Linked DNA regions of Homo sapiens: all the other regions are linked to region 1. Evidence: promoter capture Hi-C in 16 types of primary human blood cells and fetal thymus (Javierre and others, 2016). All regions are on one chromosome and are shown on one strand. The core of a region is centred on a gene start or on the middle of the fragment in contact, and the rest is flanking DNA. Distances in the headings are between cores, read along the strand shown. Region 1 holds the start of CD244 (CD244 molecule). Region 2 overlaps COPA (coat protein complex I subunit alpha). Region 3 holds the start of ATP1A4 (ATPase Na+/K+ transporting subunit alpha 4).

Region 1 (3,359 bases), core at 381-2,880:
TGTTCCTCATCATGCTCTGCCCTAGGCTGCCTGCATCCTTACAAATGTTGAGTCCACCTGAGCCTTGACTGTGTCTTCCTGAAGGACACAAGAATGCTCAGGGACTCGGTAACTGAATTGAGTACCTGGGCATGGGACTTTATTGCATATGGGGCTTCTACCTGGCCCTGAACCCACACAACACTATGCCTCAGTTTCCCCTCTTTGTGCCCAGAGTGTACCCTCCTCTAATTCCACGCTCTCCACCTCCGTGAAGCCCCTGCAGAGTCACTGATCTAAAATGCAGAACCCTGGCTGGGCATGGTGGCTCACACCTGTAATCCCAGCACTTTGGATGGGGGAGACCAAGGTGGGCAGATCACCTGAGGTCAGGAGTTCAAGACCAGCCTGGCCAACATGGTGAAACCTGGTCTCTACTAAAAATACAAAAATTAGCCAAGCATGGTGGCGCACGTCTGTAATTTCACCTACTCGGGAGGCTGAGGCATGAGAATCACTTGAACCCGGGAGGCAGAGTTTGTAGTGAGCCAAGATCACGCCACTGCACTCCAGCCTGGGTGACAGAAGGAGACTCTGTCTCAAAAAATAAATAAATAAATAAAAATTAAAAATGAAATAAATAAATTAATTCAATTAAATTAAATGCGGGATCCAGGTTTCAGAGCATCCTGGACCCCAGAACTGGAGAAAGAGGGGAGCAGCCCTCAGCTGGGATCCCCAGGAGTAAATGTTAGATGGCTCCATGCCTGGCTGACAGCTTTAGGTTTGCTGTGGAGCTTCCTCATATTGTCTCCTTCTTCTGCCCCAACCCTGCATGTCCCTAATAATTTCCAGGCTCCTGTGGCATCTGGATGGCTGAAGAAGCCGGGGAGATGAGGGACCATGCCTTCCAGCTTCTTCCTGGCTGCTGGCCTCGCCCTCCCCTCCCTGGGCTCAGCTTTCCTGCCTCAGGGGTCCATCCATCTGTCTCTGAGCTCGAGAACCACCCACTTCCTTGGGACTGCTTCTCTTCTCTCATGCCACAATTGGAGGATGCAATTTTCATCATCTTTACAGGCGGCTGGAAGGAGGCTTCTCTCTCCACTACACGGAAGGGTAAATTGAAGCCAGTGGGAAGGAATCTCCTCACCCAAGACTTCCTGGATTGCTGGTGGCAGGGCCAGATACCCCTCTCACAGACCTCCCAGTGCACTGCCAGCCTGTCCTGTCTGATTTAGACTGTCAGAGCTGTCAGGAGCTGCTCGGAGTCAAGTTCCAGATGACTGTGTATGTGGCACAAGCAGAGGCTCTGGCTCTGATCTCCCTGAGGGGCACAGCTCCTAGTCCCTCCCTCGCCCCACGCCAGGTAGGACCTCCTTACCTTTGCCCTGATACACCTTGAGGAGCAGGAGGAGTATGAGGGTGACCACTTGCCCCAGCATTTCCACAGGACAGAGGGGCCAGGCCAGCCCCTCCACCCCACCAGACTCTCTGCCGTGCACGGGCTCAGCAGTCCCCAGTCAGCAAGAGGACGATGGGGAGCAGAACTGCCTTGCAACCTGTCCAGCCACAGTTTCCTCAATTAGAGGCTGTTAACGCCTGCTGTGAGCTGACAAGGCCACTGAGAAAGCCCCAGCGCCTGGAGCTGGTCTGACAGTTCCCACAAGCCAAACTGGTGAAGCTTACCTCAAGTGGGAGGGTGCTTGAAGTTCACAGTGACTCACAAAGCCAGTTTCAAAATTGCATCCCGTTCTCTGCTTCAGCCCAAGAAGTCTTCCAATTCTCTGAATCCTATATGGAGAGACCCCCATGGGGGCCAAACAGCCAGTATCCCCAACTGTTCCATTCCAACAGACATTGTGGAGGTGGAGTGGAGAGGGGCTGGAGGAGGAGTGGGCTGAAACGTAGGGCCCTGGATAAGCGGCTAACAGTGTTGAAGGAAAGGAGGAGTAGCTGAGAGAACATAGGAAGAGACCTAAGGGCTGGAGGCACTAGAAAAATCTAGCAAGCCTGGGGATTCCATGCAAGTTGACACCAAAGTTTAAGCACATGTAAATTAAATTTGTTTCATAAGAATTTGTTTCACACGGGGCACAGTGGCTCACGCCTGTAATCCCAACACTTTGGGAGACTGAAGCAGGCAGATCACTTGAGATCAGGAGATCGAGACTAGCCTGGCCAATATGGTGAATCCCCACCTCTACTAAAAATAGAGAAATTAGCCAGGCTGGGTGGCGTGCACCTGTAATCCAAGCTACTTGGGAGGCTGAGGCAGGGGAATCACTTGAGCAAAGGAGGTGGAGGTTGCGGTAAGCCAAGATCACGCCACTGCACTCCAGCCTAGGTGACAGAGCGACACTGTGTCTCAAAAAAAAAAAAAAAAATTTTGTTTTGCTCCACATTTCCGATCTGTATGCCTAGATTCCCTCCCTTCCTCTTTTTCTACTTTTCTATAGTAGTCCTCTCTTCCCTCTTTTGTCTTCTCCCAGAAGTGACATGGGCCTATTTTTGCTGCCTTCCCATCCATGCTTGGACGCCACCCTCCAGGAAGGCCAGGCAGCTCTGGATCTGCTTAGGCCCCCATGGAGGGGTGGGGACAGCGGCATCCCCCCTCCCCTGGAACACTGTGCTTCAAGGCCAGGCCCCAGGGTTCATGCCTCTTTCTTTCTTCCTTCTGCTTTCCCCTTAACAAATACTTTCAGTTCCCTTCAAGTCCGCTCTTATTCTCTTTTTCCATCCTTTGGTCCATTTCCAGCCACCCTGTCTGAACTGGGCAGGGGGCAGCAGACTGACAGCTTCAGCTGCCAACAGAGGCAGCAGCGGGGCTCTGGACAGAGCGCTGGATTTAGAGTCAAAGACTTGGACTTGCAGCTCCCATTCAGCAACTTACAACCTATGTGATTCTGGCCTTGTTGCTGTCTGAGCCTGTAGGGTCAACAATACATCCTCCCCACCTTCACAAGGCAGTTTTCAGGATCAAATTAAAAATGATACTCCAGAATATGCACACAAAAAACACTGGACATAGATGAGGTTTTTGTGGTTTTGTTTTCATTTTTTTAAGCTCTGAATAGCTTTTTCCAGCGGGTCTAATGGTTATCATCTCTTCTCTCCTTTGTCTGCTCCCAAGGGGCAGCCCTCAACCCTGGGGAATTTCTTCAGAGTTGATCTGGCCATGTCCTTAACCTTGAGAAGTGGTGCACAAGACATGATATAACAAAGAAGGGTAAACTTCCTCACACGACAGGTGGAAAACAAGATCCAGCTGTTGGAACCCACTAATGAATGTGAATTAGGAATCAGCCTCTCCAATCCTGACCCCAACACCAGCTCCATCCTTCCCACCAGGCATGTGGATGACCTATCATCCCCTGGAAACA
Region 2 (3,432 bases), core at 94-2,593, 540 kb before region 1:
CTGAGAACACCAAACAGGTCCAACCCAAGTAAGACTACCCTAAGGCATATAAAAGTCAAACTCTCAAAAGTCAAGGACAAAGAAAGGATCCTAAAATACACAACAGAAAAGAAGCAAAGAACACACAAAGGAGCTCCAATTTGTCTGGCAATAGATGTTTCAATGCAAACCATACAGGCCAAGAGAGAGAGGAATGACATTTTCCAAGTGCTCAAAGAAAAAACCTGACATCTAAGAATACTGTACCCAGCAAGATTATTTTATTTTCCAAATATGAAGGATAGTATTTCCCATACAAACAAAAGGTGAGAATTTACCACCACCAGATCCATCTTACAGTAAGTGTTAAAAGTAGTTCTTCGATCTGAAAGAAAAAAACACTAATGTGGTAGCGGAAGTTACTGCAGCTGCGGTGTTGTGCTGTGGGGAAGGGAGAAGGATTTGTAAACCCCGGAGTGAGGTTCTGCTTACCCGAGGCCGCTGCTGTGCGGAGACCCCCGGGTGAAGCCACTGTCATCATGTCTGACCAGGAGGCAAAACCTTCAACTGAGGACTTGGGGGATAAGAAGGAAGGTGAATATATTAAACTCAAAGTCATTGGACAGGATAGCAGTGAGATTCACTTCAAAGTGAAAATGACAACACATCTCAAGAAACTCAAAGAATCATACTGTCAAAGACAGGGCGTTCCAATGAATTCATTCAGGTTTCTCTTTGAGGGTCAGAGAATTGCTGATAATCATACTCCAAAAGAACTGGGAATGGAGGAAGAAGATGTGATTGAAGTTTATCAGGAACAAATGGGGGGTCATTCAACAGTTTAGATATTCTTTTTATTTTTTTTCTTTTCCCTCAATCCTTTCTCATTTTTAAAAATAGTTCTTTTGTAATGTGGTGTTAAAAACGGAATTGAAAACTGGCACCCCATCTCTTTGAAACATCTGGTAATCTGAATTCTAGTGCTCATTATTCATTATTGTTTATTTTCATTGTGCTGATTTTTGGTGATCAAGCCTCAGTCCCCTTCATATTACCCTCTCCTTTTTAAAAATTACGTGTGCACAGAGAGCCCACCTTTTTCAGGACATTGCATTTTCAGGCTTGTGGTGATAAATAAGATTGACCAATGCAAGCGTTCATAATAACTTGCGAATTGGCCCTGATGTTCTAGCATGTGATTACTTCACTCCTGGACTGTGACTTTCAGTGGGAGATGGAAGTGTTTCAGAGAACTGAAACTGTGGAAAAATGACCTTTCCTTAACTTCAAGCTACTCTTAAATTTGAGGGTCTGGACCAAAAGAAGAGGAATATCGGGTTGAAGTCAAGATAACTGATAAGGAGAGAGTAATGACTAACTCCAAAGATGGCTTCATTGAAGAAAAGGCATTTTAAGATTTTTTAAAAATCTTGTCAGAAGATCCCAGAAAAGTTCTAATTTTCATTAGCAATTAATAAAGCTATACATGCAGAAATGAATACAACAGAACACTGCTCTTTTTGATTTTATTTGTACTTTTTGGCCTGGGATATGGGTTTTAAATGGACATTGTCTGTACCAGCTTCATTAAAATAAACAATATTTGTAAAAAAAAAAAAAAAAAAAAAAACAAAAAAAAAAAAAAAACACTAATGTGCAAAAAGAAAACTTTTCAAGATATAAAACCCAAGATGTAAAATTAAGTTCATAGACAAACCCAGAAGACTATATTACTATAATGGTGGTACACAATCCACTTATAACTTTACTATGAAGCCCAAAAGACAAATATATCAAAAGCAATAATAGCTATAGCAACATGTTAAAGAGATAGTCAAAAAGGCAGGAACAGAAATGGAGTTAAATGTATAATTTCTGAGTGTGTTTTAGCCTTTGTTTTTGTTCTTGTGTTTGTGATATAAAATAAGCTGTCATCTCTTTAAAATACCTTATTCTATCTATAAGATTTTTTTTTGTGAATCTCATGGTAATTACAGCACAAAAACTATTAATATATACTCACTAAAAATAAAAAGCATCAAATTAAGACATATTACCAAAGAAAATCACTTAACCACAAAAGAAGACAGTAAGAAAAGGAAGAGAGAAGCCTCAAAAAAAAACAAAACAAAACCAGAAAACAAGCAAAAAACAGCAGTAATAAGTCCTTGCTTATCAATAATATCACTGAATGTAAATGCTCTCAATTCTTCAATTAAAAGGCATAGAGTGGCTAAACGGATAAAGAGAGAAGACCTAACTATATGCTGCCCTCAAGAAACCCATTTACCTATACAGACACACATAGACTGAAAACGAAGGAGTGGGAGATATTCCATGAAACTGGAAACCAGAAAAGAGCAGGCGTAGCTATACTTACATGAGATAAAACAGACTACCAAACCTAAGATTGTAAAAAGAGACAAAGAAGGTCACTATATAATGATAAAGGGGTCAATTCAGCAAGAGGAAATAACAATTATAAGTATCTGTGCACCCAACACCAAAGCTCCCAAGTATATAAAGCAAACACTAATAGATCCAAAAGGAGAGGTAGACTACAATATGATAATAGTAGGAGAGCTAATACCCCACTCTCAAAAACAGACAGATCATCCATACAGTAAATCAACAAAGAAACAGTGGAGTTAAACTACATACTAGATCTAATAGGCCTAACTGCAATTTACAGAACATTTCACCCAACGGCTACAGAATATTCTTTTCATCAGCACATGGAACACTCTCCAGAATAAACTATACTTTAGGCCACAAAACAAGCTTGAAAAAATTGTAAAAAATAGAAATTATATTAAGTATCTTTTCTGAACACAATAGAACTAGAAATCAATAACAAGAGGAACCTCAGAAAATACAAACACATGTAAGTTAAACAACATGTTCCTGAAAGACTAATGGATCAATGAAGAAATTAAGAAGGAAATTTAAAAATTGCTTGAAACGAATGAAAATGGCAATACAATGTAACAAAATTTATGGGATATGACAAAAGCAGTACTAAGAATGAAGTTTATAACATAAACACCTATGTCAAAAAAAAAAAAAAAAAAAGGAAAGACTCCAAATGAACAATCTAATGATACACCTCAAGGACCTAGATAATAAAAAACAAGCCAAACCCTAAATTAGTAGAAGAAAACAAACAATAAAGATCAGAGCAGAAATAAAATTGAGACTAAAAAAAATACAGACTATCAATGAAACGAAACACTTGCTTTTTGAAAAGATAGTATCAACAAACTGTTAGCTAGACCAACTAAGGAAAAAGGAGAGAAGATCCAAATAAATAAAATCAGAAATGAGAAAGGAAACATAACAACTGAGACCTCAGAAATACAAAGAATCATTAGAAACTATTACGAGAATGACATGCCAACATACTAGAAAACTTACAAGAAATGGATATATTCCTAGACACATACAACCTACAAA
Region 3 (3,285 bases), core at 412-2,911, 710 kb before region 1:
TTTAAAAAGCATGCCCAACCAAAATGCAATTAAATAAATATCAGGCCAGGCTTGGTGTCTCACTTATGTAATCCCAACATTTTAGGAGGCCAAGGCCAAGGATTGCTTGAGCCCAGGAGTTTGAGACCAGCCTGGGCAACACAGGGGCACCCCGTCTTTACTAAAATAAAATAAAAAAAATTAGCCGGGCATGGTGGCACATGCCTGTGGTCCCAGCTACTTGGGAGGCTGAGGTGGGAGGATCACTTGGACCTGGGAGGTTGAGGCTGGAGTAAGCCATAATCGCACCATTACACTCCAGCCTGGGCAACAAAGTGAGATCCTGTCTCAAAAAGTAAATAAACAAATATCAAACAACAGAATGGGAAAATCTATGTGACGTGCATAATTGAAAAATATATATAATGGTTGACAGAAAAGTATAGATGCTTCAGATTATTCTTGGAAGGAGGTAGAATCCTATGGACATGCAAAACATATATACAGTTAATATAGTCAAAGCACTTACTGAGACACCAGAGAAGGTCAATGGAAGAGGTAAGTACATCATTTTAAAATGAGAAAATGCAACGCTATCACATGGAAAAGCATATTTTTACCCTCACTGAGAAGAGCTGCATATTAATCCACAAATAAAACTACTACTGAATTCAAGCTACCTATTGAGCACATACTATATATGTCACATAGTGCTTTTTGTAGAGCACCTCACTTAAGGTAGAAGGTATCCTCTTTTAAAAATAAGAAAAGAGAGGTACAGAGGTTAGGTAACTTGCTCAAAGCCACACAGCTGACAAGTGGAGGAGTTGGGATTGAAATCCAGGACTGGTTCCAGAGCCCAAGATCTGATCTATTCTGCTAGCTGATCTCCTAAAATTAAAAGATCAAACCCAATGTTAGTGGAAAAGTGTGCCTTGCTAAAAAACACACACAGAGTACCTGCTTTTTTTTTTTTTTTGAGATGGAGTCTCAAAAACAGACGGGAGAATATTAGTCCAAACTGCAACTGCACCATTTTGTAAGCTCCCTGCTATGGTTTTTTGTTTGTTTGTTTGTTTGTTTGTTTGTTTGTTTGTTTGTCTGAGATGGAGTCACTCTGTCACCGAGGCTGGAGTGCAGTGATGCAATCTCAATTCACTGCAACCTCTGCCTTCTGGATTCAGATGTTTCTCCTGCCTCAGCCTCCCGAGCAGCTGGGATTACAGGTGCCCACCACCACACCTGGCTAAATTTTGTATTTTTAGTAGAGATGGGGTTTCACCATACTGGCCACGAAGGTCTCGATCTCAGCCTCCCAAAGTGCTGGGATTACAGGCATGAGCCACCGCGCCCGGCCGAATACCCGCTTTATTTTTGAGTCATCTATTTGGCATACCTCTAAGCCTCCAAAGTCTGCAGGACCACACAAGAACTTTGTTCTAGTTCTGCCCTCAGACTGAAACTCTTTCTGTAGCAGGGCCTGCTCCAATCGTCCTCAAACCCAAAGACTGAGACTTCTAGGTTCTTGGTTAAAACCTTCATGAGGCCTTTGCGACAGCAGACCTGGACCATCGCCAAGGCAAGACTTCTGGATTCTTGGTTAGAACTTTCAGGAGGCCTTTGTGATGCCAGACCTGGGTCATTGCCCCAGCAACCACAGGGCCTGGGACTGGGGGGTTCCCAGATCCTTGAAGCTCACTCCGCCTCCTCACTCTCACTGCATTTCCCACCTTCCTGTGGGCCTTGCGGCATCTTCATCACTGAGGCACCTGGTTACGCTTCACCTCTTGTTTCCTGCCCTCACTGCATTCCCTCACCTCTACCTTTTTATCCTTCCACCCTAGGCTTCTCTCCTCCCTCTTCCCTCACTCCTGACTCTTCCTCTTCCCAGCGGACGGCTGGAGGACCGCTCAGTCTCTCCTCTCTCACTTCCCTTCCTCTCTCTCACCTTCACCACCCAACACCTCCCTCCCTGCCTCTTTCTTTCTGCTCCCTCATTCTCTCCCCACCACTCTCTTCTCGTGGCCCCCTTGCCCGCGCGCCCTCTTCCCTTCCCCTTGCCTCACTCTCTCAGCTTTCTTCCCACAGTTGAGCTCGGGCAGCTCTTTCTGGGGATAGCTATGGGGCTTTGGGGGAAGAAAGGGACAGTGGCTCCCCATGACCAGAGTCCAAGACGAAGACCTAAAAAAGGGCTTATCAAGAAAAAAATGGTGAAGAGGGAAAAACAGAAGCGCAATATGGAGGAACTGAAGAAGGAAGTGGTCATGGTGAGGCCACCCAAAGTGGGCGCTGACAGCTGCCCTCTGAAAACACTCCTCCACCTATCTTTAACATCTTACCTTGAGAATGAAACACACAGGCCAGAGCCACATCTCTTCTCTGTTAGGCTTTGGAGGGAAGGAGAGGGTTAAAAAAAAAAAAAAAGATACACACAGAGAGACAGGGCAGCTCAACAGCAAGCACAGGTATATTGCAGACACCTGTGGAAGTGGGGGATCAGCTTAATTCCACAGTCCACTGCCACTTACAGGCTGGGTACTTATAGGGATGGATGGGAGGAGTCTGGGCTGTATGGCCTGCTGCCTGGCAGGATATCGATAAGATGTTCTCATGATGAGGTGATTTTTGGCCCTTGTTTCCACAGAATATAATCATGGTATTCCCTGGACCTTTGCCCAGCAGGATGTGATAGGGATGTTTCTTTAGTGGGGTCTTTGTCTTTAATTGGGCCTTCGTCTGCCCTGTGGTCAGGTGGTTAGGCAGGCTGTTTCTCTGGCCCGAACCCCCGTGAAATGTTTCACTTTGACCAAGGCCTGTAAAATAGTGGGGAGCTAGGCCGGGCGTGGTGGCTCACACCTGTAATCCCAGCACTTTGGGAGGCTGAGGCAGGCAGATCACCTGAGGTCAGGAGTTTGAGACAAGCCTGGCCAACATGGTGAAACCCCGCCTCTAAAAATACAAAAATTAGCTGGTCCTGGTGATGGGCCCCTGTAATCCCAGCTGCTTGGGAGGCTGAGGCAGGAGAAACACCTGTTGGGAGGCAGAGGTTGCAGTGAGTCGAAATCGCACCACTGTACACCAGCCTGGGCAACAGAGTGACTCCATCTCAAAAAAAGAATTGCAGGGAGCTTACAAAATGGAGCAGTCTCAGTTTGGACTAACATTCTCCAGTCTGTTTCTCCCCCTCTCCCTGGAAATGACCTGGGCCACCCCCTGTCCCTCAATGCCTCTACTGTCCCCTCAGGATGATCACAAATTAACCTTGGAAGAGCTGAGCACCAAGTACTCCGTGGACCTGACAAAGGT

What was found. The method cuts DNA at HindIII sites, captures the fragments that hold promoters and counts their contacts. A CHiCAGO score of 5 or more calls a contact.
Region 2: a fragment that was not itself captured here is called in contact with the fragment with the promoter of CD244 in region 1 in 1 of 17 cell types (non-activated CD4 T cells); the score reaches 5.5 in non-activated CD4 T cells.
Region 3: the fragment with the promoter of ATP1A4 here is called in contact with the fragment with the promoter of CD244 in region 1 in 2 of 17 cell types (total B cells and activated CD4 T cells); the score reaches 10.6 in total B cells.

Annotation. Positions count from the first base shown.
Region 1 is chr1:160,861,257-160,864,615 of GRCh38, forward strand. CD244 (CD244 molecule) reads right to left here and starts at 1,631. Exons shown (of 9, transcript NM_016382.4): 1 at 1,361-1,631. The coding sequence starts at 1,421. RefSeq lists an enhancer at 1,447-1,496. The HindIII fragment of the contact is 2,100 bases long and covers 1-1,658 here.
Region 2 is chr1:160,316,883-160,320,314 of GRCh38, forward strand. All of the region lies in intron 8 of COPA (coat protein complex I subunit alpha), which reads right to left. It also overlaps the pseudogene SUMO1P3. Among named protein-coding and RNA genes, the nearest start is that of COPA, 25 kb to the right of the region's middle. The HindIII fragment of the contact is 2,829 bases long and covers 1-2,758 here.
Region 3 is chr1:160,149,942-160,153,226 of GRCh38, forward strand. It overlaps ATP1A4 (ATPase Na+/K+ transporting subunit alpha 4), which reads left to right and starts at 1,662. Exons shown (of 22, transcript NM_144699.4): 1 at 1,662-2,246; 2 at 3,224-3,283. The coding sequence starts at 2,100. The HindIII fragment of the contact is 4,407 bases long and covers 1-3,285 here.